7 separate regions of the Homo sapiens genome follow, and regions 2, 3, 4, 5, 6 and 7 are each linked to region 1. Evidence: promoter capture Hi-C in 16 types of primary human blood cells and fetal thymus (Javierre and others, 2016). All regions are on one chromosome and are shown on one strand. The core of a region is centred on a gene start or on the middle of the fragment in contact, and the rest is flanking DNA. Distances in the headings are between cores, read along the strand shown. Region 1 holds the start of SMNDC1 (survival motor neuron domain containing 1). Region 2 has its middle 36 kb from the start of MIR548E. Region 3 overlaps SHOC2 (SHOC2 leucine rich repeat scaffold protein). Region 4 overlaps SHOC2 (SHOC2 leucine rich repeat scaffold protein). Region 5 overlaps SHOC2 (SHOC2 leucine rich repeat scaffold protein). Region 6 overlaps SHOC2 (SHOC2 leucine rich repeat scaffold protein). Region 7 overlaps PDCD4 (programmed cell death 4).

Region 1 (4,109 bases), core at 935-3,434:
GAATCAGTCTGGTGTCCTGAAACACAAAAGGTATTTACTATGATGGCTCTATGTTTGTCTTGAAATCCCAGTGCAGGTTTTCAAAAAAAGGTTTCATTATCTACTAAACTCTACCATGACAAAGATCTCCTTTTCACCACATAGTTCAATTTCCACAAGTGTCAACAACTTTACTGTAAAACCTAGCCTTAAGTCTGAACATCTATGTAACAATTATACAAAGCACTTGTCTCTCTTTAGGCATTTTTGTGGTGTGTTTTCAATACAAAATGTAATCCACTAGCTTTGGGGAAAAAAAAAAGGCACGCATTTTCAAAGAATCTTGTGGTATTAAAAAGAATCTTAAGGTTCTATTTTTCTCCTTCAATCTTTGTTACTTTTTGAACTAAATTTCATTTGCCAGGTCTTAAAAACTAAAAGCGTTTTTCATTGTGAAGTTACATGTACCTCTCGTCTTGAAAATCTGACAGACTTGGAAATTTCTATCAACTTTAGTTTTTAAAAATTATGTAAGCACACAAGATTTATATAACAAAGAACAATATTTCACTCTGATGTACAGAAACCTGAGAACTGGGGAAGCAACCCTACTTCTACAAGCAATGGTACCTACAGAATTTACATATATACATAGGGTGGGGTGTAACCCCTCAAAAGGCGCTTTGGGTACTTAGGGATTCAAGCAATAATTTGAAAAACAGAGAAAAAGTACAATTGTCTACCCATACTTACTTGTAAATCTTTCTTCAATTTTAGCAAATCTTCATTTTCTCCATTTCCAGATAATGCAGCTTCAACTTGCTGGAGCTGAGCTTTGTAGCTTGCCAGCTGCTTTGCTAAATCCTCTGACATCTAGGGAAAATAAAAAGGGTTAGACCATGAAAACTAAACCAAAAATCAAGGCATAAAAAACTAACTCCCCTGTCTGCCTGAATTACCAGTTTTTGCCTCTAACTCCTTCTAACACTGCAGCTTAATTTACCACCATTACCTTTACTCTCAGTTTAGACTTCAGCTAAACCACAAACTTAAAGGCAACAGATTCTGAGGATTATAAACTTGAGATACATTCCATACTTTAAAAAAGCATACAGATACAAAGAAATTTCTAATTTTCTTTTAACTCCTATCCACAGGGTAGGTGCTGAATTCGGCTCAATAATCAGTGTTATCTTTTTAAAAAGCACTACTCTGTTGGAAAAGTCGAAACTTTCAAAAACAATCCAAATACTTATTTTTAAGCACTACAGTATGCTTCCAAAGCCAAACAAGTGCGTTTTTAAATTAACTACACAAACTACGATCTTTACTTGAACTATTCAATTAAGAGTGTATTTAAAAGTGCCTCTCCAAAACAAAAATCTTTCGCCCAGTCGCTTAAATATTTATCGGTGCATTATCTTCAGCAAAAAGAACAGCACAGGTACTCTCCCATTTAGGCATTCTAACGAATGTGCCTTTCGCCAAATCCAGCTCAGTCATTTTCCTGAAAATAAGATACCAATTAACCTTTTTTGATGGTTTATAAGCAAATGTACCACGTTTCCGAGGACCCTTCTCCTTCGTAAAATTCCCGTCCAACCAAAGGCTGGGAGCCTGCAAAGGCCCCCTAAGAGTTACAGCGACCCAGGCTGCTCTCCTCCCCGCCACGCAGCACCTCAAAGCCCGCCACAACTCGATCATTCGGACGTGGAAATCCACACGCCAGCTCCAAGACCACCGCCGGAGCCCCGCCGCGCTCCAACAGGCAGGCTCCACAGGGAGCCGCGCGGCGCCCAGCCCCACCCGACCCGGTCCCCTGCGGGCCGTGTTTGCCGCCGCCGCACGGAGGCCAGCGCCGGCCGGGCCGCCGAGGCTCAGCTCTGGCTGAGAGACGGCCGTGGCTCCGGGATCCAGGGCCAGCGCCTGGGCGTCTCCGGCGAGGCGGGCTCCTCAGCCTTGGGCCTCCGCTTCACCTCGGGAGGGACCCGGGCCCGGCCAGGCCTTACTCTCTCCCTCAGGGGGGTTGTTACCTTGTGTGGGGCTGGGGGCGGGGCGGCGGGAAGGGGTCGGGGCAAATGAGCCCAGTGGTAGTGGCGGTGGCAGCAGCAGCAGTAGCAGTAGCAGGAAAATCACCGCGACGACAGCAAGGCGACCCGGTCTGAAAAGGAAGAACTCGGTCGGCGGCGAGGGGGAAGGGAGGAACGCCGGGCACTGGAAGGAGGAAAAGACAGAGACGGTGAAGTCTCGCGAGAAATACAAACTCTCGCGCGAGGTCGCTCGACTCACGTGACTCCGCGCGCCCTCTAGCCAGTCCCTGGCTGTCAGGGACACGAAGTAGGCGGGGCCTAGGAAGGAAATGGCGTAGCTGGGCTTCGCCAGGCGCGGAATGCAGGTTATCTTCCTGGAGTTCCGGCTTGGAATTTATTGGAAATGCAAATTCTCAAGCCCCACCCCAGACCTCCTGAATCCAGAGACTCTTGTTTTAATAAGCTCACCAGATGATACCAATGTCCGCTGACGTTTGAGAACCACTGCTTTTCCGGGGCGGTGGTGGTGGGTGGCGGGGGGTGTTGGTGGGGGCTCTCTTTACGTTGCCCTGGCTGGTCTCCAGCTCCTGGGCTCAAGCTATCCTCCTGCATCGGCATCCCAAAATGCTAGGATTACAGGCGTGAGCCACCGCGCCCAGCCTGAGAACCACTACTTTATATGATACAAGCCTTAGTAGTAACAGAAAGCTAATTAAATCGTGACAGAAATAACCTATTGGAGAGAAGATTGATTTCTTTAAAATCTGTTTTGTTAAAACCTACTTGGTTTTAATTTAGTTGGGTTAATCTCGCCTGATAGGGAACAACGTCCAAGTTAGTCTAGAATGGTAAAGAGTGGTAGGAATACTCACATTTGTGTTCAAAAAGAAATGCCCCTTGTGTATGTTTGTAATAATATATACGCTTTCTGGACGGATACACAAAACTGTTCAGAGGTTTGGAGTGGAAGCCAAATGTTTTATTGATTACCCTCTTTGCTGTTTACCCTTTTTCCTTTTCTTTTTTTTTTAAACCATATATATATAATTTATTTCAATTAAAAAAGCAATAAAGGCCTGAGACACAAAGTTTTATATAGATGACAGGAAGCAACCTTTCCTGGGAGGTTGGGAGTTTGTTGCTGGATCCATAAAAAGGCCCACTTCTCGCGGATCACCTGAGGTCAGGAGTTCGAGACCAGCTCGACCACGTGGAGAAACCCCGTCTCTACTAAAAATACAAAAAAAAAAAACCAACAACAACAACAACAACAAAAAGCCGAGCATGTTGGTGCATTCCTGTAATCCCAGCTGCTCGGGTGGCTGAGGCAGGAGAATCGCTTGAACCTGGAGGCGGCGGTTGCGGTGAGCCGAGATCGTGCCATTGCACTCCAGCCTGGGCAGCAAGAGTGAAACTCCGTCTCAAAAAAAAAAAAAAAGGCCCACTTCTCAGATGGGCTCTTTTGAACTGTGCCAACATCTTTAGTTCCTAGTTTTCTTTTCAAGGAGCCTTCCCTTTTGTTCTCTACACACACACACATAACCCTTGCAGTGAGTCAGATAACCTGTATAGATGGAAACTAGGTCGGGTTTGTGAGTGTGAAAGATTGAAATTGCAGCAGAGGGCAGCAGTGTGTAGCTAGAATTAAGAAGGCAGACAAAACAGAAAGCATGTGCTTTTAAATAAATATTCGTTTAAAATAAAATGTAGTTTTAGAGAACTTCTGTTATTGTAATTGTGTGTTTTAAGAACCGATGCGAGGAGGAACTTCCTTGAATATAAAGTCAACCTTATTGTGTAAAAATCTCTTAAATGAGAACTTTTCCTGAACCCCATAGATCAGAAAATAGGCAAATATTCATTATAAGTTCCATCATAGATTTCTATACCATCTTAATAATTTTTTCAGGATTGTTTTTAGGATTGTTTTTATCTATGCAACATTCATTTATAAAGAAAAGCTATATTGAATTTTAATTTTCACAAAGAAATAACAGTTTGTATGTGCCAGATACCATTCTAAGCACTTTACACAGGTTCATTTAATTTTCACAATTGTATGCGGTGTTGCTCCAGACAAAACTGGAGCAGACAAAACTA
Region 2 (4,109 bases), core at 1,012-3,511, 720 kb after region 1:
ACTGAGACCTAATCCTAGGACTATAGAATGCTTCCCCTCCCCACCACACCTTAGCACTACATCACTAAAGGCCTATTTACCTCAGTTCCTTTTAACCAGCACATTGTGGTTAGCTTTCAACAAAAAAATTACAAGGCATACTAAAAAGATAAAAGCACCATTTGAAGACACAGAGCAACCATCAGAAGCAGACTCAGATATGACAGATGCTGGAATTATCAGACCAGGAATTTTAAATAAGTAGGATTAATATGCTAAGGGCTCTAATGGAAAAAGTAGACAGCATGTAGGAATAGGTGGGTAATATTAGCAGAGAGAGATTCTACAAAAGAATTACAAATGCTGGAAATAACACTAACAATAAAGAATGATTGGCTAGTACACTGGGCACAGCTGAGGAAGGAAGCTTGAAGATAATATGTCGGTAGAAACTTCCCAAATAAAAAGCAAAGAGGAGAAAAAACTAACTGGAACCAAATATCCAAAAACTGTGGGACAACTACAAAAGATGTAATATACATTTAATGAGAAGACCAGAAGAATAAAGGGAAAGAAGCAAGTATTTGAGGAGTAACGACTAAGAATTCACAAGATTAATGTCAACCTGCAAGGCTGTTTAAACACCAGACAATCAGTTAATGTAATCCATCACCTTAACAGGCTAAGAAGAAAAATCATATATCAATAGATGCAGAAAAAGCATTTGACGAAATCTAGCACTCCTTCGTTACAACTCTTGAGCAAACTAGGAACAGAGTAGAACTTACTTAACTTGATAAAGAACATCTACCTGAAACCCACAGCTAACATTATATTTACTGGTAAAAAAAACTTGAAGCTTTCCTACGAAGACCAAGAACAAGGGAAGGATGTTCTCCCTCACAGTTTCTTTTCATTATCTTACTGGAAGTGATAGCTAATGTAATAAGACAAGGAAAGGAAGTAAAAGTCATACAGACTGGGAAGGAAGGAATAAAACTCTTTGTTTGCAGATGACATGATTGTCTATGGAAAATCCAAAGAAAATGGCAAAAACAACTGATGATAGCAAGTGATTATAGCAAGGTTGCATAATACAAGGTTTATATACAAAAGTAAATTGCTTTCCGATACAGAACAAAGAATAATTGGAATTTGAAATTAAAAACATAATACCATTTACATTAGTACCTCTCTCCCAAAATGAAATACTTTGTTATCAATGAAACAAAATATAAAACACACATGAGGAAAAATACAGATCTCTAATGATAGAAATAAGAATAAATGAAGAGAGATTCCATGTTCATGAATTGGAAGACTTGATATTGTCAAGAAATCCGTTCTTCACAACTTGATCTATAAATTCAACACAATCTCAATTAAAATCCCAGAAAGTTGTTTTGTGGATATTGACAAACTGATTCTGAAATCTATATGGAGAGGCAAAAGATTCAGAATAGCCAGTGAAATATTTAAAGAGAAGAAAAGAGTCAAGAGGTCTGACACCACCCAACTTCAAGACTTACTATAAAGCTACTGTAATTAAGACTGGTATTACAAATAGATCAAAGTAACACTATAGAGTCCCCAAAAAGAGACCCACACAAATATTGTCAACATTTTTGACAAGGAAGCAAAGGCAATTCAGTGGAGTAAGTATAGTTCTTTTCAACGTACAGTGCTGGAACAAGTGGGGATCCATATGCAAATATAAGCAAATCTAGGCCTTAAACTTTTCACAGAAAGTAACTCAAAATTGGCCATACCTAAATGTAACATGGAAAACTATAAAACTCCTAGAAGGAAACCTAGGAGAAAGTCTAGATGCCTTTAGGTCTAGCAGTGACTTTTTAGATACAACACCAAACCACGATTTGTGAAAGACATCATTGGATTTTATTAAAATTAAATTTTTGTGTTCTTCAGAAGACACTATCGAGAGAATGAGAACAACAGACTGGGAGAAAATATTTGCTAAAGACATACCTGATAAAGGACTCACCCAAAATAGACAAACAGCTCTTAAAACTCAGCATAAGAAATGGAACAACCCAATTAAAAAATGAGCAAAAGATCTAAACAGACACCTCGCCAAGAAGATATACAGATAGTAAGTAGGCTCATTAAAAGATGGTCAGCATCCTCTATTAGTTAGGGAATTGCAAATTAAAACAATGAGATATCACTGCACAACCATTAGAATAGCTAAAATCCAAAACACCAACAGCACCAATGCTGGCAAGAATGTGGAATAACTGGAAATACAATTTACTTCTGGTGAAAATGTAAAATGGTACAGTCACTTTGGAAGACAATTTGGCAATATCTTACAAAACTAAACATACTCTTACCATATGATCATGCTTTTTAGTATTTACCCAAATGAATTAAAACATCTGCACAGAACCCTGCAATTAAATGCATACAGCAGCTTTACTCATAATTGCCTAACTTGCAAGCAATGAAGATGTCTTTCAATAAGTGAATGGATAAACTGTGGCACATTCATACAATGGGATATTACTCTATTCTATAGGAGGAGGAGTGGCAAATACTGTAGGTATCACAACCAGACCCCTTGTATCCCTTTACCATTTTGATGCACTCTGGCTGCCTCTCAGTATCACATAGAGAGCTTGAGGTGTCTGGGAAATCCCTAAATAAATAAGTTATCAAGCCATAAAAAGACCTGGAGAACCGAAATCCTTATTGCTAAGTGAAGAAGCCAATCTGAAAAGACTTTATACTGTATGATTCTAACTAAATTATATTCTGGGAAAGGCATATCTTTAGTGACAATAAAAAGATCAGTGGTTGACGAGAGTTTGGAGGAAGGGAGGAACGAGTATGTAGAGCACAGAGGATTTTTAGGTGGTGAAAGAATTCGGTATGATATTATGGGAGATAATGTCATTACACGTTTGGCAAAACCTGTAGAATGTACACCACCAAGAGTGAACGCTATGTAAACTATGGACTTTGGGTCATAATATGTATCAATCTTTAGTAACTGTAACAAATGTACCACACAGGGACATTGGCTGGGGAGGCTGTGGGTGTGTGTGGAGAGATATATATGGGAACTCTCTGTACTTTGCTCAATTTTGCTGTGAACGTAAAATTGCTCTTAAAACGTTTATTTGAAAAAAAATGATGTTGCTATTTCAGATAGGGTGGTCTGGGTAAGTCTGGCTAAGAAAGTGTCATTTGAGTCTTAGATGAAGTTTAGCTATATCTGAGGGAAGGGCATTTTGGGTAAAACAGCTGATTTTTAAGGAAAAATGAGGCCTGTGTGGCTGGAGTGAGGAAAAGCAAGTTGGTAAAGAGTAGAGATAAAGTCAGAGAGATGGGGAAGAGAAAAGCAGATCATGAGGCTTTGTGTGTCACGCTAAGGATTTTAGCTTTTATCCTGAATGAAGTGAATAAATGTAGCTCTGCCACTACTAGATCTGTGACCTGAGGCAAGTTATTTTACCTCATTTTTTCACATATCTGTTGGCCATTTGTATGTCTTCTTTTGAGAAATGTCTATTAAGATCTTTTGCCCATTTTTAAATTGGAGTATTAGTATTTGCTATTGAGTTGTTTGAGTTCCTTATATATCCCGGTTATTAATCCTCTGTTGGATTAATAGTTTGCAAATATTTTCTCTCATTCTCTAGGTTATCTCTTCACTTTGTCGATTGTTTCCATGGCTGTGCAGAAGCTTTTTAGCTTGAGGTAATCCCATTTGTCAGTTTTTGCTTTGGTTGCCTGTGCTTTTGAGGCCTTATGAAATCTTTGCCCAGATCAATGGCCTGAAGTGTTTTCCCAATGTTTTCTTCTAGTAGCTGCAGGTCATATATTTACGTCTTTAATCCATGTTGAGTTGATTTTTGTATACAGTGAGAGAGATAAGTCTATTTCATTCTGCAAATGGATATCATTTTCCCAGCATGATTTATTGAAGAGACTATCATTTCTTCAATATATGTTGGTGCCTTTGTCAAAAATGAGTTGACTGTAAATGTAAGGATTTATTTCTGAGTTCTCTATGCTGTTCCATTGGTCTATGTGTCTGTTTTTATGCCAGTACCATGCTGTTTTGGTAGTATATTTTGAGTTCAGATATTGTGATGTCTCTAGGT
Region 3 (4,109 bases), core at 608-3,107, 700 kb after region 1:
GATTAGTGTTTTAATGATTTAATTTGCTGTCTTTTTAAGACTGTTTTTCCTCCCCTACTTTACTGCTCAGCACCTTAAGAATTCCTGAGCTCATTCTGGTTTCCTTATGGGCTGTCATTAGATGCGTCTTCTTCTATTGTTTTCATATCTTTATTTGAGCATTTATATTTTATTCAGTGATTTCTGCATATTGTGAAATTGTAAAAACATCATATTTATCATAGGATCTTTGAAATCTCCAGTGTTTCTCTGTATACTGTGTTTTTCTATTTCCATTATAATCACATAAGGAACAAACTTCCAGTTTAACTCCCAAATAAAAGCCTCATTACTGTATAAAAAACTTTGGAGGCTTAGAGTTTTCTGTTGCTGATTTTTTTTCTTTCTATATTTAAATATCAAAAAGGGGAATAAGATTTTGTTTAATTAAGAATTCTCTTTCCGAAGTGACAGGTATATATAGAACTTTGTTTTTGTGATTCTACCTTGGATGCTTCTTTTTGTCTTTGCCAGGACAATCAGTTAACATCACTTCCCTTGGATTTTGGAACTTGGACCAGTATGGTAGAATTGAATTTAGCCACTAATCAGCTCACAAAGATCCCTGAGGATGTGTCTGGTCTCGTTTCTCTTGAGGTTAGTATAAATGAGCAATTAGAGAACTTCAGAACCTTCCATACGTATCTCATTTAAAAATTTCAAATTTAAATAAGCAATTTCTATTTGGGTGAATGTCATAATTAGAAATGTTAGAACTCACTTAAACATACAACCCTAATAGGATAATGAAGTGTTGACTTAGGTAGTCTAGATTCAGTGCTTTTGAATTTCTCTTGCCTACTACAAGTTGGTGTCTTTGAGTGCCATAAAGTATTAATATCTCTAAAAGAAAAGTTCTGTAAAAGCATCTTTTAGAACAATTTTTTTCTTTATTCTGTTTAAAAACTACACCATTGTCTACCAAAATAATTATCGATTCTCAGACTGTCATTTAGAATGCTTTATCATACTTTTTCATCCTAATTACCGACCTGCTATTTTATTTACTCATTGATTATTGTCTTTGTTGTAAATCTGGTATGCCTATTTCTAGCCCTCTAATTTTAGTCCTATTGTTTTCTGTATCTAGAATGCCCTCTTCTCATCCCCTTAGTTTTTTTCTTTTAGTATGTTTTTCCATAATTAAAGATCCATCTTATTTTCACCTCTTCAGTTAAGGATGATTTCTCCTGCTTCTGAGTTCCTAGAGTTTTCATCCCTTTGATGAAAATGCTTACTAATAGTAAATATATTGCTTTTTAAAATTTCCTTCATATCCATGTTTTTTAAAGGTCTAATTTTTAAATTATTTAATAAGGTGAAATAGTATGGTTTAATGGCTAAAAACATGGGCTTTGAAGTCAAACAAAGCTGAGTGTAATTATCTCTGTATATTTATGTACTTAACTTGCCCAAGCTTCAGTTTCTTAAGCTGTGAAATGGGGATAATAAGAGTATCTACCTTGTAGAGTTGTAGTTAGGATTAAATGCAATAATGCACATAATGCATTCAGTACAGTGCCTTGCAAATAGTAAAATCAAGTGGTGACTGCTGTAATTATTTTCTCCATCTTACTGTATATATTTATTATGGGTGGTGTAACATTAGGGAAAATAAATGAACATAAAAACTTACCCAGAACCTTACGTATCTGTTTTACCTATTGCTCTTTCTCCCAACCCAGTATTGTCTCCTTACCTTTCTGCTAGTTTGTAACTTTATCGGAACAAAGGCTATCTTCTCTGCCATTTTAACCCCCTTCAGTATCTTCCAGGATGCTTTCAGTGTAATAAGAACACCACAGATAATAAATAGAGTGGATTGATATAGCAAGTTTAGAAGGTAGCTTTTACCTTCCTTAAGTAATGGTTTGTAAGGGATTTTGAATAAATAGTTTCCTATTAGATAAACATTTGTAACTATTGAGCATTTTTTTGAAATTTCATTAAAATTAAATTGCTTCTTTTGTTTTCATTAGTTTTGATATAATCAAATAAAATCTCTTTTCTAATAACTATGGTGTTTTTTTAGAAAAGTAAGTTAAATATTTTATATGTTATATAATTGAACATCACCCTTAATATTCACTGTTTGGAAAATTAGCATTGCTTAATAGATTTTAAGCCACACAATGACAGTATATAATTTCATTTCATGATTTCCTAAACATTATCAATAATTTCTCATTAGGTTCTTATCTTATCAAACAATCTTCTAAAGAAGCTTCCCCATGGTCTTGGAAACCTTAGGAAGTTAAGAGAGTTGGATCTAGAAGAGAACAAATTGGAATCCTTGCCAAATGAAATTGCATATCTTAAGGATTTACAGGTAAACATTATGCTGATTTTGTAGTTTTATAAAGTTTTTGGAATCTGTTCCAAATTCCACATTTCTCTTAAGATTTTGATGTAATTCTTGGATCAGATAGACTTTCCTATTCTAGTATTAGGGCTGAGTTTTATGTTCATATAACCTGGCTTTGTTTTCCTAACAAATGGTATTTTGTGAAAGAAAAATATGTAATGTAAGTGATTCTCATTCTATCCAATCTGGTTTCCCTGTTAATTTATTTTATTGTTTAGACATATTATTTTCAGTTTACATTAAATGTAGGAAATATATTTGTAACTCTCTTTTATTTTGTAAATCTTTTAGAAATTAGTCTTGACAAACAACCAGTTGACCACTCTTCCCAGAGGCATTGGTCACCTTACTAATCTCACACATCTGGGCCTTGGAGAGAACCTACTTACTCACCTTCCTGAAGAAATTGGTATGAACCCTGTGAATGCTTGACTCTGTACTAATAATTTGCTCTTGTGCATTCAAGCAATATTTCAGATAAATATGACAAATCTATTGTTTTTTAAACTGAGGTTATATCAGGCTTAAGATTTTTTTTTTTAATAGAGCACCGATGGTTGATTGTTGATTGGTTTTGGTTAGGTTTCCTAAAGGCTGTTAGGATTGGTTTTAAAATTAGTACTGTATTTGAGAATGTTTTGGAATACTTACATTTCCAATAGGTTTTATGTATAACCTCATTTTAGAAGTTATTTTATATTCCTTCTAAATTTAAAATTACACAGGCTTGAATTAGTAATGTTTTATGCCAAAAGAACATTTATGAGATTTTAGAATTAATATTAATATTTAACCAATATTAACATTTGGGAATACTTAACATTTTCCAGGTGTTTTCATTTCCATTATTTTATGTAATATACATGACCACCTGGAATTTTAGACAGTGCAAGTTGTAATCTTGCTTTATAAAGAGAATTACTTGATTAAGGTAATTAAATGTTAGCTTTTAAATTAGTAATTCTATGCATTAATGTTTTCCCATCTATAGTGCACTGTCCCACAGGAACTATAGGTTAGTAAACACCGCATGTTCTCCTCATAGGTGGGAATTGAACAATGAGAACACTTGGATACAGGGTGGGGAACATCACACACCGGGGCCTGTCGTGGGGTAGCGGGAGGGGGGAAGGATAGCATTAGGAGATATACCTAATGTAAATGACTAGTTAACGGGTGCAGCACACCACCATGGCACATGTATACATATGTAACAAACCTGCACGTTGTGTACATGTACCCTAGAACTTAAAGTATAATAAAAAAAAATGGTTTTGGAGATAATTGACAATTCAAAATCTAGCCCTGCTGCTTATTGGCTTTGTGACTTTAGGTAAGGTATGTAAACTCCCTAAGCCTCAAGTTTCTTACCTGTAAAATAAAGATGATAATAGGAAGTTCTCACAAGGTTGTTCTGAAGCTTAAATAATATCTTACATGTAAACAAATTGATTACATACTAGCTATTATTTCTGTTATTTTCTAATAAATGCCACTGTGAAATATTCTGAATTTTGAAATTTAAAAATTGGAAACACATGAGGCAAATTTACACCTATATTTCTAGTATATTTATTCACCTGATCTCATTTAATTGCTTGAGACATTTTCCTAGAGAATACAAGTATCCTAAGAAAAAATTTTTAAAGGTCTACATAAGTCAGTTTTTGGCTTACTGCCATATATGTGATAACTCTTAGTGAAA
Region 4 (4,109 bases), core at 1,094-3,593, 690 kb after region 1:
GCCTTGGAGAACCTGTGTGTCGAAACTCTGTATCTAACTAATCTGATGGGGACGTGGAGAACCTTTGTATCTAGCTCAGGGATTGTAAACGCACCAATCAGCGCCCTGACAAAACAGGCCACTCGGCTCTACCAATCAGCAGGACGTGGGTGGGGCCAGATAAGAGAATAAAAGCAGGCTGCCGGAGCCAGCATTGGCAACCCACTCGGGTCCCCTTCCACACTGTGGAAGCTTTGTTCTTTCGCTCTTTGCAATAAATCTTGCTACTGCTCAAAAAAAACAAAAACAAAAAACAAAAAAAAACACAACAAAATGTTGCTTTACTCTACTGCAAATCAGACAGGAGAACCAAAATTTAAGATACTTGAAATGTTATCAAGTGATTTTCTTATCCCTCTCATTGATGTTTAGTCACTATGTATATCTTAGGATATTAAACATGCTAGACATTTTATTGTTTCTTGAACATATCAGGTAAATTCTAGCCTTGAGATCTTTGTGCTTCCCATCTCTCTGTTTAGAACTCTTTTCTCCTAAATATCTGTGTAACTTTGCCTGCTCCTTCAACTGATCAGATAGATATATATAGCATGATTTTCATTCGGCCTTCTTCTCTGTCTCAAATAGTCTAACAATATTTTATTATTTAATATTTTTATATATGTGTCTGTATCTCAAACTTGTTAAATAACAGTCAAAGGGGCATGCGATTAAAGTACTGAAATGAATAATCCTGGTAAACAGAGAAAGCATAGGTGGTGATATATGATACAGTCTTCTAGTAAGTAGGATTAGTGTCCTATTGGAGGTAATTCTTCTGTGTTTTAAGTGTGTTTACTAATATGAAAACATTTGATTTTATTATTAATCTCTTGTAGTTTAGATGTTATCCTAGAATAACACATATGCCTCACCTCTAGCTTATTCTATAGGGCCAGATTACAGTATTACAAATTGGAAATCAATGAGAACTGAAACATTAACAACAAGAAAATTTTAAATAACATTGCATTTACTTTTATATGCTTTGATGGTTGTCACCAAGTATAGTACAGCTGTTACTCTGAGTAAATGGCAAAGTAAATTAGTAATATTTATTGAAACTTTTTATGATATTGTAGTCATTTATCGATTACCATGTTTATTAAAATAATTACTTTATCTTTCTCCATCCTTTCCAGTCCTAGTATTTTGATGATGTAGCAGAAGATTGAGGTTTGGTGGGAAACTTTGACGTTTGGGTCTTGGTCTGTTAAAAATTTCAACAGTTTTAATTGACCTTTGAGATTTTCACTCTCATTTATTGAAGATGAAGAATTTACCCTAAGTAGTGGAAACTTAATTGAATTATGGTTCTCCTGATACTTCTCCTTTTTTAAATCCTACTCTAGTTCTGAGAAAGTATAACTTAAAATGAAAAACAAACAGAAAGCCCAACACCTGTTCTGCAGAGTTGATGCTAGTCTGGAAGCAGCTGCCCACTCTCTTTTCCTTGGACTAAAGAATCTTGCCCTAAACTTGTAACTGAAAATCAAATCTTGTATTGTCTTAAAATCACTTCCCAGAAATCACTGTATTTACTTGCCTTTTCCTTTTTTTCTTTTTTCTTATAAGTAGACCAGAATGTTTTTTACTTTTTTCTTTATTTAACATGAACATTCCTGGAGTAACTATCACTCCCCTGTGATAATTACTGCCATTTACTTCCAGGCTGAGAAGCTAGTATCGCTGACAACTCATAGGATGTGAGGAAGAGACAGAAGGAAATGGGTTGGGGATTACCAAGTTGCAGTTAAGTAAGAGAGTGCTTAAATACATATTTATAGTTTCTCTGATTTAACTGTTAGTCTGCCTTGTTGAATAAAAAAAGTATTATTTTATATGAATATTTTCTCATTCAGAAATTAGCTATGAACAGAAGAAAATATTAAGCTTTATTCCAACAGTTATTTTGTTTTAAAGTATGAACCTGATGTTTTTTAAAGCCTTCTGGTACCTCTGGTAGTTTTATGTAATCCAGGGAAGAAACAGTCCGAAGTAGGAAAAAATACTTTACTTTGTATTTCTTCTCAAAATGAGATTAGGAGAGAACTGTGCCACAAAACCTTGCCTTCAAGGCTGGAGTGCAGAACAATTCACAGAAGCCTTTTTGTTGCACTGGGCTCTGAAGAAATGTTACATTAATTATGGTTATATCAACAAGTAGCATTTTAGTCATTTTAGTAATTGGGTTTTAGGTAATTACAGTGCAGCGTATGTATAACAACTTTACTAGTTTTCTTTTTAATGGTGGTGTTCTTTGGGTTTTTAACATTCAGGAATTTCTGTGTTGCTTACTTTTCAGTTTGCTTTCAGTTTAATGTTTCTGAAAAAATAATGGTACCTTTGACATTTCATCCTTCCAACCCTGAGTCTTTCCTACTATTTTTTTTGCTACTTTGTTAAAATAAGATTATGATCATTTAAATTAGTCTTACTCGAAAGTTATACTAAATTAAACTAAAGTTGCTGGTTATATTTGCTGAAATTGAAAGAATCTAATTTTAATTCATAGCCATTTGATTTCACCATATTTTAAAAATCTGACAGCGTAAGAGAAAGCAAGCTGTCAAAGTGGAGCACAGAACAATTTGTAGACAAAGTTAAGCACTTGAAAGCTAAATGCCAGTGATTGGCAGTGATCAGCCTACGTTTATATACAGGAGCTCAGCAACAATGATTTTATTTCTTAGTCAAGATGGCTCAACATTAAAGCAAGCTTGTGTTGATTTCTAGGTTGCAGTTTAGTTTGTGGTTAAAACCACTCATTGAGAGGGGTTAGAGCTGAAACCACTGCAGAGGGTGAATCACAATAAATGCCAGACTTCTGATGTTTTCTTCTGGCGTAAAAGAGTTTTGATATTTCATCCTTAATTTTTTTAACCTTTTTTATTTAGCTGAGAGTAATGGACTTTGGCAAAATGTGGATGACTCTTTGAATTTGCCAGTGGTCTCAAGTGATAGGGCCTTTGCAAATGTGAGATTTCTTCATCAGAACAGCCTATTCTCATAGATTACATTGTTAGAAATTCAACCCCTTCCGCCCCAGCAAAAAGCAAAAAATTTAGATCCAAGAAAGGTGGAGGTACCTTTTAATTTAAATTACTACTGGTTTTGGTACTAGATAATGTCATGTAGCAATTTGGCTACATTATTTTTATTTTGTAATTTTTAAATTCTAGGAACCTACTCTGGTTTTAAAAGTGAGAAACTTAAGAGTTATTTGGTTTTGGATGAGAAATTTCAAGAATCTGGTTCTATTTACTAGGCTTTTGAGTTGACAAACATTTAGAATTTGGTTCCCCTACTAACCTTTGTTACCACAGAAAGTTTTTTAGTTTTCAGTGAGAATAAAAAACATTTAAAATATTGTATTTATCTACCATGATACTGTAAAGGGTTATTGAATGAGGCATGTCAGTTGATGGAGTAAGATCATGGAGACTTCTCTCTGTTAATAAATTCTCCCCTCTTATGGCAGACTTCAAAGACCCCTTGGTGAAAGATTCAGCCATTTTGTTACAATGGATCAACTTTCTTCCATAGGGAAAGCAGTGATGTAAAGGAGAAAAAGGGATGGTCTTGTTTACTTCCATTTTTTTTTTTAAAGGTTAGCTGCCTCATTTTATCTGCAGCTGCATACAGGAAATTAAAATTTTATCAGAAGGTTTTGAAGTTCTTTGTAATCAGACATGATCACTACTTGGAGGAAAATGTTCACTTCTGCTGGCCTTGCTGTAGCAGTGGCCATAGGAATGGAATAGGCAAGGGATAAAATGTTGATACCATCCCTCCCCATTTTACAAGGATGTGAGTAAATGGGGGCTATTCTTCACTCTTAGTGGAAATAAAAATGATATAGCCTTTTGTTATTTATTAAAATTTTAAATATCTATATCATCTGACACATAAATATTTTCACATGTGCACAAAGATACATGTCTAGGGGTATTCATTACATAATTCTTTTTTAAAAAATTAAATGCCATCAGTTGAGCAATGATTGGAGAGATAATGGTACACATGACATGAAACACTTTACAATGGTTAAATAGAATGAGGTATATCTG
Region 5 (4,109 bases), core at 572-3,071, 640 kb after region 1:
TTGCTGATTCTTTCTTCTTCCTGCTCATATCTGCTGTTGAACCCTTCTAGTGAGGTTTGCATTTCCATGATTGCACTTTCAACTCCAGGTTATTTGGTTCTTTTAAAAACAACTTATATCTCTGTATTGATATTCCCTATTTGGTGAGACATTGTCCTTATACCTTCCTTTAGTTCTACAGGCATGTTTTCCTTTAGTTCATTGAACATTTTAAAAATAGCTAACTTACAGGAGATTTGATATTAAATTTTCATTTACAACTTTTACCTAAGTGAACATGGGCTATCATGACCTTCTGTGAGCCTGTGTCTTCAACTCCAGGGCGTGATCAATAATAAATGGCTGAGTTGTCCTGCTGGAACACTGAAACCTTGCTAACTCACTAGAGAACAAAAAGTAGTCTCACCATGTTAAATATTAAGTGAGTAACTTGTGTTTGTCAAATTGAGAACCTATTTTCTTATATCTAAACAAGGAAGTTAATCTTGAGGCAGTAGGAATGGAATTAAGCATTCTGGTCACGGAAAGTCACATTGGCCTTCTATGGATCAGTTTTAACAGTCTGCATTCTCCTTTTCTTCTTGGCAACCCAGAATCTTTCAACCAACTCTTTTAGCACACTTCTTCCACATATTATCATTTCAGATCGTCTTTTGCCCCAACTTTGCCCCAAGTGGCTGTGGATTGGATTTGATCTCACCAGTCTCCTCTTTCTTGCTCGTCTCAAAGGAAGACCTGCCTATTATCTCCCTGCTTTTTTGTTATTACAGAAAAACTGAGAATGACAAAAACATACCTTGGAAAATTTATTATGAAATCTGAAATGTGACATGTTACAAAGTTCATAAGCTCCTTGTTCCATAGTATATTGTTATCTCCATTCTTAGGATATTCTGTTGTGATACTGTTTTCTGCTTTTTATTTTGAAGTTGGTACTTATCCAGGCCCTCTTACCATTTTACCATTATCCAGTGAAAATTTATGGATTCTACCTTTATGTGTGCTCCTTCTGCCCACAGTGGAAAATGAAGATAATCCAGATCACAAATGAAAAGTATGTATCTTTGAGCCAAAAAAAAAAAAAAAAGCTGACTTAGAAGTGTTTAATAAGTCCAATATCTGGATTTCCTCAGGGACAGTTTCTGTTATTTGCTTTTCTTCCTGTGTATGGTTCATATTTTCTTGTTTCTTTGCATATCTTATAATTTTTTGTTGAAAATTACATTTGGACATTTTAAATAATAAATGATCTTTGAAATAATGTGGACATTCTAAATAATATAAAAATGTCCAAATAGTGGAGACTTATAATAAAATAATTTGACAACTATGAAAATCACATTTTGCCCTCTCTTCAGGGTTTGTTGGAGTACTTGTAGTTGTTTCTTCATTTAATTTCTTTTGTGAATTAATTCTGCAAACTCTATTTGATGTGTGTGACTACCTCAGTAGATAATTCAGTCTCTAGTTGGTTAGCTTAGTTGTTGCTAATGACTGGACAAAGATTTCTTTACATGCCTGGAACCAGTAAATCTCCTAGTCTTTGCCAGAGGATTTTGTGTGTGTGTGTCTTGGGGCATGCCTTCAACACTCAGCTGGGTAGTTGGCAACTCTGCCTTGTCCTTATGTCCTGCTTGTGCAGAGCTTCAAAGCTTAGGCCCTTTTCAGGTCTTCCTTGAGCATGTACACAGCCTTAGGCATGTGTATGACCTTCTAGATTCCCAGTAATATGTCAGAGCTTTTCAAAGTCTGTTACGGGTATTTCATTCTCAGCTTTTCCTTTTAAGATTTAAGTCTGTTGCTCCAACTGTTATTCACTGCCTCAAGTAGATATGGTATAAAACACTTTCCTGTAATTTTTTTCAATGAATATCTCCCTGGGGAAAAGGCGTTTTGCATTGTGCAAGCTCTGAGTCAGGTCACATACGGTCAGCATTGCAAATAGGGTCTTCCTGGAAACAAGACTGCTCAAGCAATAATTTGGGGAGAATGAAGCTTTGAATGAGCTACAACTCTTGCTGCTTTTTAACGTAGCTTCTAGAGTGCACTGGGAATGTGAGCTGTCGTTTCTTCAAGACTACTGTGGATCTGGAGAGCAAGGGATGGGACTAGGGCAAGTTAAAATAGAAAGCTCATCATTCTTAATGAGATTGAGCTTTTTAAAAATAAATGCAACTTGGATGCAAGCTTTTTATTAATTTTTAGAGTTCTGATAAAGTTGATTCTATTTTCCAGTTTTCTTTGTGCTTTTGTGGAAGAGACAGTTTTTAGAGATGCTTACTCTGCTGTTTTCTGTGATGTCGCCTCCACTTGGGCTTTGCCATCCCACACTGACAGACCTCCATGTTTGACTCTCCCTATCTCCACCCCAACCCCACTCAGACTCTGACTCTCCATGCTAGGCTTACCCTGTGTGTGAATACCTTTTCACCTTGCTTGAAATCTTAACTGTTCATGTTGCGCAGCCTCCTCCTTAACCATCAATCAAGCCTATTATGTAGAAATCTTCCTCACTCTCATAGACTCCAGTATCACACCCTGGTTCATCACTACCTGTGGATGTTCTTCTCACCCCCAATCAGGTTCTGATTCTCTGTGTTGAGCTATCTTCCTATGAGCATACCCACCCTATCCCAATTGGCCTCTTAAACATCTTGTGGGTTACCATCATATGTCAGTGTTCATCTCTTCCTGTTCTAACTGATACCCTACACAGAACTGCATCTTTGTGGGATTGTCCTTTTCATCCTACTCAGGCCCTGAGTAGGATTTTTTTAATCAAATAAAAATCCCTTCAGTTTGAATAGTATAATCATGATATCACTCAGTGAAATCCTTGATATCTTATTATTGTAGTGGTAACTTCTGATGGGTATGGGAATGACAATTCTATACCATGCCTTCTTTATTTTTCATTTTAGTTTTACTGAGATAACATATTTTGAAGCTGATCATTTATATTTCTTAAAGAAGAAATTTATTCTAAAAAATTATGTCTAGATACATTAATTTGTTGTTTTATTCATGTAGTAACCATTTCTTGGGCATCTAGTATTGGCCAGGTTCTAGGCTCTGAATATACAGCTGCAAACCAAATAGTCAGAAGCCCCTGCTTTCACAGTTTTCACATTCATAGAGGAGAGGGAGATGATAGACAAAATAAATAAGTAAATATATTTTATGAGGTAGTAAATGTTGTGAAGAAAAATAAAGCAGGGTAAAAAGAATAGGAAGACATTTCTCTTTTATATGTAGATCAAGAATGAGATATTTGAGCAGGGAACAAACAATGTGGATATTTGAGAGAAAGGGCTGTATCTATGCAGATGGAATAGCTAGAACAAAGACTTCATGTGTGAGCATGTAGATCTGCATTCAAAGAAAAGCAAGATTAATATGAATGGAATGCAAGTACCTAGCGGGGAGAGTTGGAGAAAAGCTAGACAAGTGTAGGGGCTAGATCATGTGGAGTCTTGGAGGTTGGAGGTAAGGGCTTGCCTTTTATTTTGAAAGATGGGATGGCATCAGATTTTTTAAGCAAGGGAGTGACTTCATCATATTTAAAAGTTAAATAGGAAGAGTGATGTTAGTAAAATGTCAGAATAGTAGTTTTCAGCATTTGTTTCTTCACAGAAGCATTTCGAATAACCACTCATAGACAAAAATACCTTCACAAGAGCTAAGGATTCCAAATGATAGATTGTAGCACCCGGGTGTAGCATAGATACAACAAATGATGCATTGAAGAGGATAGGAACTACAGTTGCACATTAATTGTTTCACCCCTTCCCAAGCCTGTGCAGCACAGTATGGAGATAGATGCCCTCCAAGTGGAGGAAGGAGAGTCAAGTGAGCCCCTAACTTTACTGTGAACCCCAGCACTAGAACCACCTCAGTGAACCCCAGTGCCAGGCTGGCACCCATGGACCCAGGCACCAGGCCAGATCCCACAGAACCAGTCTCCAGACCCATCCTTGCGGATCCAGTAACTGAGGCTAGCCTGCTGGAGAAGTCAGGCAGCAAGCCTGCTCGTGGACTATGCCAGCCATGCTGTCCGGAATCTCTGGACAGGCTGACTGGTAAAGGGCTTCCTATGTTAAAGCTCCTCT
Region 6 (4,109 bases), core at 668-3,167, 620 kb after region 1:
TATGTGAAATGAACCTGACATATTTTTATAAATTATTTGTGCATGACTATCTTTTGTTGATAGCACTAGGAAGACTTCTAACGTTTAAATACTTTATTTGCCCTCAATTACTATTTAAAAGTCCTATAATTTTAAGTAATTTTACAGCTGACAAAGATAAATATTTTTTTCTTTTAGTTTTTCTAATGTCTTGGAGGTAAAGTGGAAATGGCCTGTTTTGACACATAATTTCTAGAACTTGGAGTTAATTTGATCAGTTACATTTGGGTTTTTTTCAGTTTCCAGTTTTGTGTTGTATAACACTTCTTCCTGCTTTCAGTACTTTCTCAGTCTTGCAAATAGTCTTTAACTTTTCAATTTTGTTCTATAAATATTTCTTAGTAACTACAGTTTCACATTCACCAATGTCATGGAACTTCTGCTGAATGCCATGTGTGTCCCAGGCTCTGTGGATACAGAGATAAATATGTTTCCTTCTTTCAGTAAGTTCAGAGTTTGTTGCATGAACCGGACAAGTCAATAGTTAATTGTTAAACAATGTGACACATGCTTTTAACAGCAGTATATACACTGGCAAACTCAGATGAGTTAAGACTCACACTGCACGTATAACTGGCAATGCCTACTGGAGGACAGGACTGGAATGAACTCTTGAGGAATAAGTAGGATAGGGGAGGGTAATAAAAGCACAAAGGTTAGATATGTTTAGGTCCACTTGGGCAGTTAGAGAAGAATAACAGTTTGGATTCTAGTAATAATATTAGGTCATATGGTAGACTTCGATTAAAGCTTGTATTATTATTAATAATAATATTTCTTGTGTTCCTAATTTTATTTGGGCTTTGAACTGCAGATCTGTATTAATGTTGACCAAACTATTATTTAAAACTTCACCTTCAACACCTGTGAAAAGGGAAAAATTTTCACCTATTTTTCATTACTATTTTAATTAAATACAAGGAGAATATATCAGTGTAACGTGGGGAATAATTCCCAGGCTTAGAACTTGGATAATGTTTCAAAATCATACTTAAGGCCGGGCGTGGTGGCTCACGCCTATAATCCCTGCACTTTGAGAAGCTGAGGCGGGCAGATCGCTTGAGGTCAGGAGTTTGAGACCAGCCTGGCCAATGTAGCGAAACCCCGTCTCTACTAAAAATACAAAAAATTAGCTGGGCGTGGTGGCAGGCACCTTTAATCCCAGCTACTCGGGAGGCTGAGGCAGGAGAATCTCTTGAACCCGGGAGGTGGAGGTTGCGGTAAGCCGAGAACATGCTACTGCACTCCAGCCTAGGCGACAGAGTGAGACTCTGTCTCAAAAAAAAAAAAAAAAAAAAAATTAAAATAAAAAGCAATACTTAAATGTCTTTTCTCAGCATTTATGTATCATGTTAAGAGTAACATTTATGAACTTTCTTAGAATTCATGGTAAAGTTTTTTTTTTGTATAATCATTTAAAATGTACTCTTTTTTGAGTACACTTTAAAAAACACTTTCCATACTTACTTGACAGTGCCACTCTTTAGGTAAGTCAGACTGTATGGTCAACAGTTATACCCTAGAAGCAGGCTTTGTAATTGTCTTGTATGATTTAAAAGTTCTCTGAACTTGAGAATTGACTAATTTTTCACGCAGTATTTTTTGGGTTTTTTTGTTTTTAAGACAGGGTCTCTTTTTCACGCTTTTTTTTGTTTTTGTTTTGGTTTTGTTTTTGTTTTCAAGACAGGGTCTCGCTCTGTCACCCAGACTAGAGTGCAGTGGCACAATCATGGGGCTCATTGCAGCCCTGACCTCCCTGGGCTCAAGTGATCCTCCCACTTTAACCTCTCGTGTAACTGGACTACAGGTGTGTACCACCATGCCTGGCTAATTTTTCTATTTTTTGTAGAGACTAGCTTTTGCCGTGTTGCCCAGGCTGGTCTCAAACTCCTGAGCTCAAACAATCCACCTGCCTTGGCCTCCCAAAGTGCTGGAATTACAAGTGTGAACCACCACGCCGGACCTTTCATGCAATATAATTTAATATTTCTTCCAGGGCGTATCATGTGAGGCCTAATTTTGATATCCCAAACTCCATTCCCTGCAGAGTGCCATAGTTTTCTGTGTTAAAACACTCATTTGCATTTCTTGATGCTCCTAATTATTTTTATTATAGAAATCTGAGAAATTTAAAAATATTAATATTTTAGCAATTGCCTTAAACATGTTGTTACACCTCATTTATCTTGAGATTACTTATAGGAAACTAAAACTATCTGGTGTCATCGGCTTGGTTACTACCTCATGCACTCTTCATGTAGCTAAACTCTAATCACCCTTCAGGCCTCAATTTTGTATCCCAGACTTTGGGAGACCTTCCTTTCATCCCTAGTTAGGTTCTTCTGTTTGAAGGTATCCTAGTGCTTTTACTTCCTTTTTTATAACACTATTTTTGTAATGATATATTTGATGTCTGTCTTTATTGCTAGACTGTAAGCCTTAAGATGAGCATTGAGTATGTCTGTCTTATTTACTGTTCCACCAGTATACAATGTCTAGACTTTGTAGGTTCCAAGTGGAAAATTAGTTTTAGATGAATAGTCTACAGCTCCAAAACAAACTGAACAGGCCCAAAGGAAGGACAAAGACATGTCATAATGTTCTTGTTTTTAAACACACATTTTCTGTTTTTAGAGTCCTTCAAGCCTTAATTCAGGCATTTTTATTCTCACGTAGTGCACAATTTTTAAAAGTTTGGTAACCAAATGTAAAAAGGACTGAAATTACTCCTAGAGGGATAAGAGAGTTGAAAATAAGAGCAGAAGAAAAACTCGAAAAGCCAGATGCAAGACATTTTGTAAAAACAGCAGTTTATAGCAACTTAATGTTATGACAAACATGCGTAGAATCTTTCAAGACACTTTGTTTTATACATAGAATAGTATAGAAAATAATGATCTAGGATCATGAAGAAGAGGTTATTGGATATTAGTAAATTTTGTTAATAACCTCATGTATTTTGGAAAAATTCCATTCAAAATGATACAATTTAAAACTTTTACTGTGTTAAGCTTTTCTTACTGGGAAGGTTTGCTTAATGAGGTAAAATATAGTAGGTAACAGTATTTATTGAACAAAATTTAAGTTGAAACAAATAATTATCTGAAAATACTGATCAGTGCAGTATAATATACTACCTTGTAATTTGTAGAGGTAGATACTATAATTACTATGTGTTTCTTTGTTTACTTTGCTATGAAATATGTAAAATTGAGTAGCAACATTTTTTTCTTGACCCACTTTTAATGAAAACAACCTGTTGCATTGATAAGACAAAATAACTAAGTATTTCTTCAACTTTTATTCTGTTAAAGAAAATAAGCTTAATTCCTTGGCATTGCCTGGTTAACCGGACTGGGAAAATTAGGTTGAAAGTCATAGTTCTTTGCTAAAAGTATGTGGTGTCTGACAGATTGGGTGACCTGAAATAGATTATATTTAATTCAGTTTGGGTTTGTATATATCTGCGATATAGAATTCAAAATTTCACCAGAGCTTTAGTTCTGGTTCAAATAAATTACATTTTATTTTAATATTGTGATCTCTTGAATTCTGTGACTATAAGGATAGGTAGGAGAGCTAGTTATTTTGCTCCTAAAACAAATATTGGTTTATCTACCATGTGCTAATTGCAACTCTAAACTCATAGAAATGGGATGCTTATATACTAGGCAGCTTAAAATAGTAAGGTTTTATGATTTAATCTTGAAGACATTTATTTCTGTACTTTGGAAGTAGTGATTTGAAATTCTTAATACTAGAAAATGGCCTAGTTTCAGAACACCCACTAAGCAACTGTGGGAACTCAGTATGCTAAATGGCTGGTAGTGCTGCAGTATTTTTTAAATTTTCCCCACCTCCTGTTATATAATAGCTTATAGTAGTACAACAGAATATGAGTATTTGGGACGAGAACAAAGCATATTGAAACCGCAAAATGATGTGAGATTGTGTCAGGCTTTGTGTTGGGCACCAAGCACCTTAAGATAGTCAGATATAATGATGGTTAGTGAATGTTTGAAATAAATCAAGTGGTAATGTTTTAGGTTGCAAATAAGGCTCATGAAAAT
Region 7 (4,109 bases), core at 1,096-3,595, 570 kb after region 1:
GTAGGGAACTATCCAGTATTTATATTCCTATGTATGTATATCAGATTAATTTTGAGGCTTGGTATTCCTAAAAGATTTGGATGTGTGTATTTCTTTAACTTGACGTAAACATGTATCACAAACATATCTTTTAATTCCAATTAAAGGGGTGCTTTGGCACATGCTGAAATCTGGGATTTTTTTTTTTGACTTTGATAAATTTATCAAAAAGATTGGAACCAAATGTTAATTAGGGTAAGTTGTCTTTGAAAGTAAAGTGAACTGTTTTATTTAATGGAATTGTGTGTTTTTTGTTGTTGTCGTTTGTTTTTACAGTGTGCTTAAGTAAGTTTAATTCAGCTTAATTACATCAGTTTAAAAGATCTTGAAGCTTTCTTTTTTTCTTTTAAAAAAACAGATTCTGAAGGAAGATTTCCATTAGGTAATTTGTTTAATCAGTGCAAGCGAAATTAAGGGAAAATGGATGTAGAAAATGAGCAGATACTGAATGTAAACCCTGCAGGTAAGTAAGGATATCCTTTTTTCTTTTTTTCTTCGTTTTGAGACAGGATCTTGCTCTGTCACCCAGGCTGGAGTGCAGTGGTGTGATCATGGCTCACTGCAGTTTTGACTTTCCTGGGCTTAAGAGATCCTCCCCTATCTCAGCCTCCTCAGCAGCTGGGACAACAGGTGTGTGCCACCACACCAGGCTAATTTTTTATTTTTTGTAGAGATAGGATTTCACTATGTTGCCTAGGCTGAAATATCTTGAAGCTTGACTATGTTGTGAGGAAGCTTCAGACCATTCCATATTTTATAAAAACATGATAGAAAAACTATCTTTAAATACTCTTTTATTCATGCTGTAAGAAAACAGGCTATATTATTTTTAAAGTCAAGTTTGTGATTTTTATTTTCATGGAAATTCATTACATGTCCTATTTTTCTGCCTATCCTTTCACATTCCACATATTCCTATTCTCTGTTATATAGTACAGAATAGAGAAGAATAGTGAGCCTGCTTATTTTCACATGGGCTAGTTAGTGATTTCTGTAATATAAACTTACTGGTATCTTTGGTATCTTTCCTAACAAATAATTTTTATATTCTAAATTACCTAGGGTATTTTCCCTAATTCTCCATGGTGCTTCAATAGCATGTTATTATCATAAAAATGAACAGTTTTGTGGAATAGATGACCAAATGTGAGTAACTCAAGATAATTTAAAATGTATTTATAGTTTTAAAAATAATCTCCCAAAAAGTTAATTAGAATTGTGTAATATCTGAATAGTGAGAACAGTTCATATTGGTATACTTTGGATAATTCTTTGTCTTATAATTTTATTAATATTGAAAGCTATTTTCTGTCATTTTAAGTGTATTTCGTAACTAAATACTACATCTTTCTTTCCTCAGTGACTTAACTCACTATTGTTTACAATGTACATAGTTTTCTTTGATCTGAACAAACATGTTGAATTTGAAGCTTCTTTACCATTGTTTATTTACAGATCTTTTTAAAGTATGGTAAAAAATTGAAAAAAATTTATGTAATTAATGATCATTTCTGTGCTGCTGTATACAATAGCTGTATGAGTATGCTTTAGGGTTATAAATGGATAATATGTACCTACTTAATTGAGATGGGGATGGTAATACAGTTTAGAATATATTTTACATATAGGTAATTGCTTCTTTTCTGCACTGTCCAGTATGGTGACCACTAGCTACATGTGGTTATTACTCCTGGGCTCAAGTGATCCTCCCTCTTCAGCCTCCTCAGTAGCTGGATTACAGGCGTGTGCACCACTGTGCTTAGCCACATGTGTTTGTTGAGTACTTGAAATGTGGCTACTCTGAGTTGAGATGAAGGTCAACTATCTCAATAATTTGTTATATTGCTTGCATGTTGAGATGATATGGTTATATTAGATTAAATAAAATATATTTAAATTAATTTCACCTGTTTTTACTTTTTAATGTGGCTACTGGAAAATTTAAAATTTCTTATATGGCTTGCATTCTATTTCTATTAGAAATAGAAACACAGCTTTAAAATGTGTACTTTTTGTTTCCTAACTACAATAAGACCTAGTTCTAACCCTGTTCTTGGTGCTTGTGTCCAGCACTGCTTTAAAATAAAAGACTTGTTCTTCAATATTTGAATAGGCCTAAGATAGACCCTCTTTGTAGTAAATTCTTCACATAGCAAATAGTCCAAGTCACACTCTTACTCTTTTACTTGGAGGAAGTAGGTTATTCTGACCTTCAGTTTTTTCATGTATAAAATTGGGATATAAATACCCTCTGTATAGATTTATAATTAGGATTTAGTGAGATATTGTATATGTGTGTTAAGTCTGTGAAGCACATACTAGGTATGTAATACATGAAAGTGTGGTAATGTTATTCTAATTATGCCACTCATTGGACACCAGTAATTGAAAATGTGATTTTCTGGTGCTGTGGTCATATACAATTGGAGTGGTTACTATTGAGATATCAGAATTCAGAAAGAGGGAATTAGTACACAGTAGGAAACAATTTTGAAGTCAATCACATTCTGTACTCAGCTTATCATTTTAATTTTGGTTTTCTTAAAGTCAGCTCAATAGGGGTTATGGAACTCCAACAGTTAGGTGAGTATGAGTAACAAAATATAAAGCAATTAATACAAACATGGGTTAAAAATGATAAGGTCAAATATATAAATTATACTGAGAGAATGTTTACTGCTGCAGAGACACAAACATACTTGAAAGGATGTTAAAATTGTTGAAGAAAAGAAAACTCGATTATGGGAAATAGATGTATTTAAATTGAATACTCCAAGGGACAGTTTAAGACATTTTATTATAGTTCTGACTCCTGTGTCTTCTGGACCAGTTTTGTGGTTCACCTTAATGGCACAATGATGAAAGCACTATGTTACAGGTAGATGTTTAATGTTTTTCTCAACCATCCACTCTTACACGAAAATGTCATCTAATTTATGTGATCCTGATCTTTCTGTCCCCTTCCACTTAATCATTTTTGTTTATCTCTCTTTACATTCACGCCCTTGTTCGTCTCTTTAGCTGTCAATACTCTGCTGTATTCTAGTTTTGTATTTTCTGTAGTTATATGGGATTAAAAATGTGGGTTTGAATTCTAGCCATAATCCTTTCTAGATATGTAACTTCTTGTGAAACACATTCCTTCTGTAAAATGAGGATAAACAGTTTCTTTCTAGAGCTCTTGAAGCTTATAGACCACATATGTAAAGTGCCTTAGCTAATAGGTACCAGGTAGTGTGGAATCTAATAGGTACCAGGTAGTGTGGAACCTGGTATCTAATAGATGACAATAGTAATGGTAATGATGAAAGAAACAGTACTACGACTACTTCCACTAAGACTATAATTACTACTGATGGTTATGATGATGTCCCAAACACACCATCCTAACACCGGCTTCTTACCAGTTTGAAAACTTTTAAGGCATTGTTTGACTTCTCTTTAATCCTAGATACATTCTGCTTAAAAGTCCTTCATTATTTTCTTTAAAAGTGTAACATTATTATTTATCCCACAGTTACTACCCTTGCTCTTTACCAGTTAGCTTGTGACTGAATTACTGAAGCATTTTCTTAGCGGTTTCCTACTTTATACTTTCTCTTTTTGTAATATACTCAGTATTCTTCTGCCAAATGAATCCCTCCCATCTCTTCCCTATGATATCTAACTTAAGCTCTGACAATTTGAGTGTGGGAGTAGTTAGCAGTGATTCTGGTGAGGTAAGCAGGGGCAAGATCATAAAGGACCTTAAGTTACAAGGTAAAGAGTTTACATTTTGGCTGGGTGCGGTGGCTCACGCCTGTAATCCCAGCACTTTGGGAGGCCGACGTAGGTGGATCACGAGGTCAGGAGATCAAGACCATCCTGGCTAACACGGTGACCCCATCTGTACTAAAAACACAAAAAAATTAGCCAGGCGTAGTGGCAGGCATCTGTAGTCCCAGCTGGGGCAGGAGAATGGCGTGAACCCGGGAGGCAGAGCTTGCAGTGAGCTGAGATTGCACCACTGCACTCCAGCCTGGGTGACAGAGCGACACGCTGTCTCAAAAAAAAAAAAAAAAAAGTTTACA

Evidence for each region. The method cuts DNA at HindIII sites, captures the fragments that hold promoters and counts their contacts. A CHiCAGO score of 5 or more calls a contact.
Region 2: a contact is called between a fragment that was not itself captured here and the fragment with the promoter of SMNDC1 in region 1, in 1 of 17 cell types (M0 macrophages). The highest score is 5.2, in M0 macrophages.
Region 3: a fragment that was not itself captured here is called in contact with the fragment with the promoter of SMNDC1 in region 1 in 6 of 17 cell types (total CD4 T cells, M2 macrophages, activated CD4 T cells and 3 more); the score reaches 8.0 in total CD4 T cells.
Region 4: a fragment that was not itself captured here is called in contact with the fragment with the promoter of SMNDC1 in region 1 in 10 of 17 cell types (activated CD4 T cells, total CD8 T cells, total CD4 T cells and 7 more); the score reaches 9.4 in activated CD4 T cells.
Region 5: a fragment that was not itself captured here is called in contact with the fragment with the promoter of SMNDC1 in region 1 in 1 of 17 cell types (total B cells); the score reaches 5.1 in total B cells.
Region 6: a fragment that was not itself captured here is called in contact with the fragment with the promoter of SMNDC1 in region 1 in 12 of 17 cell types (fetal thymus, monocytes, neutrophils and 9 more); the score reaches 11.8 in fetal thymus.
Region 7: a contact is called between a fragment that was not itself captured here and the fragment with the promoter of SMNDC1 in region 1, in 17 of 17 cell types (fetal thymus, M0 macrophages, M2 macrophages and 14 more). The highest score is 20.7, in fetal thymus.

The regions. Positions count from the first base shown.
Region 1 is chr10:110,302,736-110,306,844 of GRCh38, forward strand. SMNDC1 (survival motor neuron domain containing 1) reads right to left here and starts at 2,185. Exons shown (of 6, transcript NM_005871.4): 1 at 2,013-2,185; 2 at 733-852. The coding sequence starts at 852. RefSeq lists a silencer at 1,697-2,016. The HindIII fragment of the contact is 6,895 bases long and covers 1-4,109 here.
Region 2 is chr10:111,023,199-111,027,307 of GRCh38, forward strand. No RefSeq gene overlaps it. Among named protein-coding and RNA genes, the nearest start is that of MIR548E, 36 kb to the left of the region's middle. The HindIII fragment of the contact is 2,850 bases long and covers 837-3,686 here.
Region 3 is chr10:111,007,018-111,011,126 of GRCh38, forward strand. SHOC2 (SHOC2 leucine rich repeat scaffold protein) reads left to right here. Exons shown (of 9, transcript NM_007373.4): 6 at 514-636; 7 at 2,231-2,368; 8 at 2,696-2,813. Among named protein-coding and RNA genes, the nearest start is that of MIR548E, 20 kb to the left of the region's middle. The HindIII fragment of the contact is 807 bases long and covers 1,455-2,261 here.
Region 4 is chr10:110,990,477-110,994,585 of GRCh38, forward strand. All of the region lies in intron 3 of SHOC2 (SHOC2 leucine rich repeat scaffold protein), which reads left to right. Among named protein-coding and RNA genes, the nearest start is that of MIR548E, 3.6 kb to the left of the region's middle. The HindIII fragment of the contact is 826 bases long and covers 1,931-2,756 here.
Region 5 is chr10:110,943,314-110,947,422 of GRCh38, forward strand. The region is part of intron 1 of SHOC2 (SHOC2 leucine rich repeat scaffold protein); the gene reads left to right. Among named protein-coding and RNA genes, the nearest start is that of SHOC2, 26 kb to the left of the region's middle. The HindIII fragment of the contact is 343 bases long and covers 1,651-1,993 here.
Region 6 is chr10:110,923,754-110,927,862 of GRCh38, forward strand. All of the region lies in intron 1 of SHOC2 (SHOC2 leucine rich repeat scaffold protein), which reads left to right. Among named protein-coding and RNA genes, the nearest start is that of SHOC2, 6.2 kb to the left of the region's middle. The HindIII fragment of the contact is 2,261 bases long and covers 788-3,048 here.
Region 7 is chr10:110,875,569-110,879,677 of GRCh38, forward strand. PDCD4 (programmed cell death 4) reads left to right here. Exons shown (of 12, transcript NM_014456.5): 2 at 398-502. The coding sequence starts at 460. Among named protein-coding and RNA genes, the nearest start is that of PDCD4, 5.7 kb to the left of the region's middle. The HindIII fragment of the contact is 1,757 bases long and covers 1,468-3,224 here.